Regions from separate parts of the Homo sapiens genome. Here region 1 is linked to region 2. Evidence: promoter capture Hi-C in human tissues and cell types (Jung and others, 2019). All regions are on one chromosome and are shown on one strand. The core of a region is centred on a gene start or on the middle of the fragment in contact, and the rest is flanking DNA. Distances in the headings are between cores, read along the strand shown. Region 1 has its middle 71 kb from the start of LINC02714. Region 2 holds the start of GLB1L2 (galactosidase beta 1 like 2).

Region 1 (3,478 bases), core at 28-2,527, 470 kb after region 2:
TTTTAAATTTTTCATCAGTATGCTGTAGTTATCGTCATATGATTTGCATGTATGATTTATTAGATTTACATCTAGGTGTTTCATGTCTTTGGTGATTATAAGTGGTTTTGTATTTTAAATTTTTCTTTCCATGTGTGCATTGCTAGTATATAGAAATGCAATTGATTTTTGTATGGCTAACCTTGTAACCATGCTGAAATTACTTACTCGTTCTTGGGGGTTTGTTTTGTTTCGGGGTTTTAAATTCCTTGGGATTTTCTATTGAGGTGATCATGTGATTTGCAAGTAGAGAGAGTTTTATTTCCTCCTTTCTGATCTGTATGCCACTTATGGCTAGAAGTTCCAGTAGCAAGTGGAATGAGAATGGTGAGAGCAAACACCCTAACCTCGCTCTTGATGGGAGTGGGATGCATTCAGCATTCACTATTCAGTGTCCTGTCAGCTGTGGAATTTTGGAGATGATCTTTATCAAGTGATAGGAGTTGCCTTCTAGTTCCAGCTTTCTGAGTTTTTTTTTTTTTTACGAATTTAATTGGTACTGATTTTTGTCCAGTGTTTGACATAGTCATGTAATTGTGAGTTTTTTTTTTTTACGAATTTAATTGGTACTGATTTTTGTCCAGTGTTTGACATAGTCATGTAATTGCTCTTTAGTCTTGCATCCCATGGTTATTGTGTATAAATGAATAAGCAAACAAATAAATGGATTCTATTTTCTATTGTTTTGTTAAGGATTTTTACATCTTTATTTATGAGCTATTTTGTATTGTTTTATTTGATTTGGAGATCTGAGGCTTCAGAAAAGGAAATTAGGAATTAGGAAGAAGTGTTCCTTCACTTCTACTTTCTGGAGAAGACTACATGTAAGTGGTATTAATTCTTCTTTAAATGTTTGGTGAAATTCTTAAGTGAAGCCATTTGGGTCTGGAGATTTTGAGTTTTAAATTATGAACCCAGTTTCCTAAGTAATTTACGCACTTTCAAATATCTATTTCATGTTAGGGAAGCTTGCGCTTTATGAGGATTGATTCATTTGATCTAATTTTTCAATTTCTGTGTCTAGAGCTGTTCATGGTATTTCCTTATTCTCCTAATGCTCGCATGATCTACAGTGATATTCTCACAGGTAATTATTTTAATACATTACCGAACTGCCCCAAATCATAATAACACAAAAGCATTTGTCACGTCTTTCCCTTCTCTCCATGCTGACCCAGGCTCCTGACCAGAAGTAAATAATGGGAACCGCTGAGTGACCTGTGTGAGAGTCACAGGTGTCAGGAGCCCTCCCTGGTGCTGCCCTCTTCCCACGCTCCCAGTGACTGGGAAAGGATACAGGGGTGATGGCCAACACACAGAGCTGGATCTCCCTGTCAGGACTCAGTTGAGCTTCCAGGCTCCCACCCCAGAAAGTGCCTCCTCTTGTAAAGTCAGAGAAACTTGGTCCTGGCTGAATGAACTTCAGCCCTACATAGCCCTACATATCCCTACATGTATCAAAGCAGCTGTAGCAGCAAGCGCTCAAGGAGCTTAAGGAGAAGAAGCAAAGGACCAAGCAATGGAAATGGTAGAGAGAAGGAAAGGAGGGGGGTGAAGGCCTTGGAGGCTGACCTACAGGGATGTTGGATGCCATGGCATGATCAGCGACTGAGATCCTTCCTCCCATCCTGCCACACGGACGTGCCCTGGGGAACGGTGGGTGTGAGCAGCGAGGAGATGCTGTTGATGGAGGCACAGCTGTTCCACTCCTCCCTTCTCAACTTGCTACCTGTAAAGAGCATCTCCGAGTGGATGGATAGCTTTTGAATCCTCTTACAGTTTTTCTTACTGAATTTTCATTAATAGCCTCCTCATCTCCAGAAATGTCAACTTTTTCTTCTTTCTTGAGAATCTGGAACCTTCAGGATAGAGGCCTCCTCTCAGTGGCTGCTCAGGATAATGAATATTTTCTTGGATTGAGGAGGACAACCCAGCTGCTCTCTGGGAAGGTGGTTCTGAGAATCCTCAGGTGCAATGTTTATGATTAGGGGACTGGAGTAGCTGTGAGGGCCAAAATTAGGAAGACAGAGTGTGGACTTCAAAAACTTCTTGGCTGTAACTGGAGTGCTATTCTATTACCAGGTCAAGTCATTGTTCTCAAAATGTCAGATAGTAATTCCTTTTATGGCTGAATGGTATTCCATTGTTTGAATATACATTTGTTTATCCATGCGTTGTTGATGGACATTCAGGTCATTATAAATACAGCTTTTGTAATAGGCTGAAAAAGAGATGTTCATGTCTTAATCCCTGTGAATTAATCTGTGAATGCTATTTTATAATATATGGCAAAAGGGACACTGCAGGTGTGATAAATTCAAGAACTTTGAGATGTAGAGATTATTCTAGATTATACAAGTGTGCCCAGATAATCACAACAGTCCTTTCAAGAGGAAGACAGGAGGCACTGGAGATAGAGAGGAGGAGGTGATCTGATCGTGTTCTGTATGAATTCCATGTCCTTAATTTTCCTCCAGCTCTGAAATGTAGCTGTAGTCACAGCTCTGATTTCTGGTAGAGAATCCCATCAAACTGGAGATGGCCTCTCATTTAGGCAAAGGGAATGGCCCAGGAAGGACATTCTGATTGTCACTTTTCTCCAGTGACCTCTGCCAGCAGCTAGTTTGCCCCTAATTTACTTTTCAGATTGCATTCACTCTGGGATCCTTTCTCTAAGTTTGTTTAACTTGAGGTAAAATAGTTTTCACAATTCTAGTTAAAATTACTGTGGCTGTTTATAAAATGCATTATCCTTGCTTCACAAAGAACCTTGGCAATTTCTGCAAATCAGTGTCTTGTCTGATGCCATTAAGAAGAGTTCTGGGAAAAGCAATAAGAGGAAGATTGGATGACCTTATGTATTTCTATCCACCTACATCAGATGCCACAACATTTAGAGAAATTGAGCCTAGGGCTTTGCATAAATTACTAATGATATTTAATTAGCATATTTAATATGTGTATGTACCACACACCCAAATGTTTAACAGCATCTTAAAGAAATGAAAACAAAGCAGATAATAACTGATTATAATATGATTGATAAATAGAATCAGAGATAACTCGAGGAGTGAGTGTTACTAAGCACATCCACTGATGAGCATGTCACTGCTGTCACTGAGCATCAACTAGGTCTCCAGATTTGCTAATTAGAACCAAGGATGACTGGGCTCCATAAGGATAGCCATCTGTGGGGAGCTCACAACCAAGTGGAGGGAGCAGCTCTGGGCATTTCCACATGGAGCACCTGCGCTCCTCATCCACGACTAAGCAAGCAACAGATAAAAAAGAGCTTGGTTAGAATAGACCCTACACAAGCAGAATCAGATCAAGAACTTAAGGAGCCCAAAGTATATTAGGCACGAGAGTTCCTGAGGAAAACTTGAGAGATCATTAGTCCTGACAATAGCTTTGAATTAGCAATAAATAACTCATCAGG
Region 2 (3,171 bases), core at 672-3,171:
ATTAGCCGGGGAAGGTGGTGGGTGCCTGCAGTCCCACCTATTCGGGAGACTGAGGCAGGAGAATAGCTTGCATCCCGGGAGGCATTGCAGTGAGCTGAGATTGCACCACTGCACTCCAGCCTGGGTAACAGAGTGAGACTCTGTCTCAAAAAAAAAAAAAAAAGTCTCAGCCTATGAGCAAGACGCATCTCGGGTTAGTGCTAACTTTGTAGCATTCTGTGGTATCATTAAGCCCAGATAAAGTAAAATTGTTCCTAGACTGTGAGCAGGGTGTGTCCCTAGTTCTGAACATCCCACAAGGTTAAGGGGAAATTTTTTTGAAAACACTCAGTTATGTATATTTTTCTCGCACAAATAAAAACGAAGGATACAAGGGTGGGCCAAGGAGTTCACGGTTTTCACAACCCATGTTAAGTTTTTGCTAACGTTTGAAGAAAAATGGAGATGCTTGTATTGCTTAAACCATTTGAGAATTCCCTTATATTTGATAGATTCTGCCACTGTTCAACGTGACCAGAAGTGAGAGGATGAATGTGGGGTGCATGTCTTTCGGATGGTCCCCTGCAGGCAAAGGGGCTAGCCTTTGACAATTTCTCCACACGCTTCGGGGCTAGCTGGTATATTCCAATTAAACCAACATGTTTCCATCACAGACTTCATAGCCATCAAGCAATCATAGCCTTACCCAATGGAGAAAAGGAGCGGGCTTGGAGCGCGTCCACGGGAGTGGGCCTCCCTCTGCGCGCCTCTGGGAATGTTTGCGGTGCTTAAGTCAGACCCGGATTGCTCCAAGCCCAGCTTATCCTCCCCAGTTCTGCCAGGGTTTTTTTCCTCTTGTTTGTTCGTTTGTTTTTGCCTCTCTTTGATTTAACTTTTGCTCCTTGACTAAATATGTGCTTAACGCTAGACAAAGGACACTTCATACCCAAGTCTGTGTCTTTGTTCCAAGATCTGCAATTTCATTTGGTTCCTGTCGGCTTTACAAGTTCAAAACTATGCCCCCGTTTAGGAAATGAATTCAAAGCATGCGGCAAGGGAGACATTCGACAAACCCGGATGCTCTGGAAAACGTTGCCCTTCCTCGAGTTTCTTTCAGTAAAATCTGAATTTTGTTCCCGGGAGGAGTTGGGTTTGTGATTGCTACAGTGTAAGTTGCACCGAAATACTACATCATGTTCTTTGGGACATACATTCTGTTTCAGAATAAGAATGATATTCTTCCTTTCCTAAAATGTGAGAGTTTTATATGGACCTTTTTAAAATAAAAAATTGGAAGCCCTTGGAGTCAAGGCCAGAGTAAGACTCGCAGAAACCAAAGACAGAAAATATTTGGAACCCCCCCTCCTCAGACATGAACCACACTGAAATGTGTCCAGATACAATTCTTCAAAATCCTGGCTTTTCACAGGATGATTTGTTATTGAAAAAGTTGTTTGCTTCAGAATCTGAATTGTTTTAAAAGATTCTGTTGGTTGCCCCTGCTTTGCGGACGCCTTTTGTACGTTCTTCCTGATGTAGCGCTGCGAGGGGCGACTTTACCTCGGCGTTTGACAGGTACGCAGCATTCCCGCACCCGCCTGCGCCTCGCGAGCAGAAAGACGGCGGACTCTGCACCGCTCCACGACACTGGGGACCCGCCCCGGCCAGACCCGTCCCCTACCGAGACCTTGTCCCCGCCCCGCCCCCGGCCGGGGCCCCGCCCCGCCAGCCCCGCCCCCGCCAGCCCCCTCTCCTACCGAGACCTCGTCCCCGCCCACCAGCCCCGCCCCGCCCCCCCCCCGACAGAGGCCCCGCCCCGGCCCCGGCCAGCCCCGCCCCCGCTTGCGCGAGGCCTAGGGCTGCAGGCGCGGAGCCGCGAGCCCCAGCCAATGAGCGCCGGCGGGCCGGTTGCCCAGGCGACCAGTGCGCGGCTCCGCCCCCCGCGGCGAGGCTCCCGCGCGCGGCTGAGTGCGGACTGGAGTGGGAACCCGGGTCCCCGCGCTTAGAGAACACGCGATGACCACGTGGAGCCTCCGGCGGAGGCCGGCCCGCACGCTGGGACTCCTGCTGCTGGTCGTCTTGGGCTTCCTGGTGCTCCGCAGGTGAGAGAGAGCTTCGCGCAGCACCTGCCGGACCCCACATTCCCCAGCCCTCCGCACCTCGGGTTCTCTCCTCCCGCGACCCGCGAATCCCGAGTTCCCGGGGGGAGCAGCCCCAGCTGCTTCTTTCTGGGAGCTCCCCAATACCCCCGAGTTCCCCTGCGGCTGCAGGCACTCTACTCCTGCCGCGCGATCCAGGCCTCTGGGCGACACCCGGCGTGCCCTCGGGAGCCGGCGTCTGTGCCCCGAGCCGCCCACCCCGCCGCGCCTGTGACGCCGGGCTCTGCCCCCCGTGGACGCCCGCAGCCCTCCAGCCGTCAGAGCCCTCTCAGACGCACCCCATCGCGGCCCCGTCCCCACTGCTCCGCGGAGAGCTCCCTCTGCCCTTCCCCCAGGCCCCCCTTTTCCTCCCAAGCCTCTGGGAGGCGCCTTATTCCGCAGAGGCCGGCGCTTCAGCCTGGCAGGTATGGTCTAGCCAGCTGGCCTGGCAGGGTCGTAAGAACAGTGTCCGTGGGCCTCCAAGATCCCGGGCCATGATTTATTTGCACAGTAGGACTGATAGGTCGTCTCTCTCCACTTTCCCACCATTCACCTGTTACCAGCTCACCCTTTCCTCTCCCCCTTTTCCAAATGTTGTTTATGGCAAAGGAGTGGCTTCAGTGATACTGTGATTTACCCACAGCCTGTGAAAAAGTTTTCTGGGTGCCCTAGCCCAGCATTTTTCTAAACTGTGCTTATTTTAAGGATTCTACAGCCCTGACCCTATCTTTCAGGTCAGCACTTTCCATATTCAAAACCTCCAGTGGGAAGCCGACCGGCAGTATCGAATGAACTGAACGGTTGGAAGTGGTGGCAGGCCCTACGCCGCTCGGCTTTGTCATTTGCTTCTTTTTTACTTAGAGAAACTAAGTTCTTAGTTTCTCTGCACTTCCCCTGGGAGACAGGGAAGTTTTTGATGGAGATAAATATCTGGAAGTCCTTTGTGGCCAGAAGAACACACTGACAAACTCTATGTTTACACCTTGTCAAGACTGGATTCTTGTTTCTGAGATAGTGGGGACGTCATGATATTGTTTGGGAGAAGGACGGATTT

Evidence for each region. The method cuts DNA at HindIII sites, captures the fragments that hold promoters and counts their contacts. A contact is called where the count stands out against the background at its distance.
Region 1: a fragment that was not itself captured here is called in contact with the fragment with the promoter of GLB1L2 in region 2 in 3 of the 25 tissues and cell types used here (H1 embryonic stem cells, IMR-90 fibroblasts and lymphoblastoid cells).

The regions. Positions count from the first base shown.
Region 1 is chr11:134,804,961-134,808,438 of GRCh38, forward strand. No RefSeq gene overlaps it. Among named protein-coding and RNA genes, the nearest start is that of LINC02714, 71 kb to the left of the region's middle. The HindIII fragment of the contact is 4,993 bases long and covers 1-3,478 here.
Region 2 is chr11:134,330,067-134,333,237 of GRCh38, forward strand. It overlaps GLB1L2 (galactosidase beta 1 like 2), which reads left to right and starts at 1,922. Exons shown (of 19, transcript NM_001370461.1): 1 at 1,922-2,081. The coding sequence starts at 1,996. RefSeq lists a silencer at 1,772-2,071. The HindIII fragment of the contact is 11,293 bases long and covers 1-3,171 here.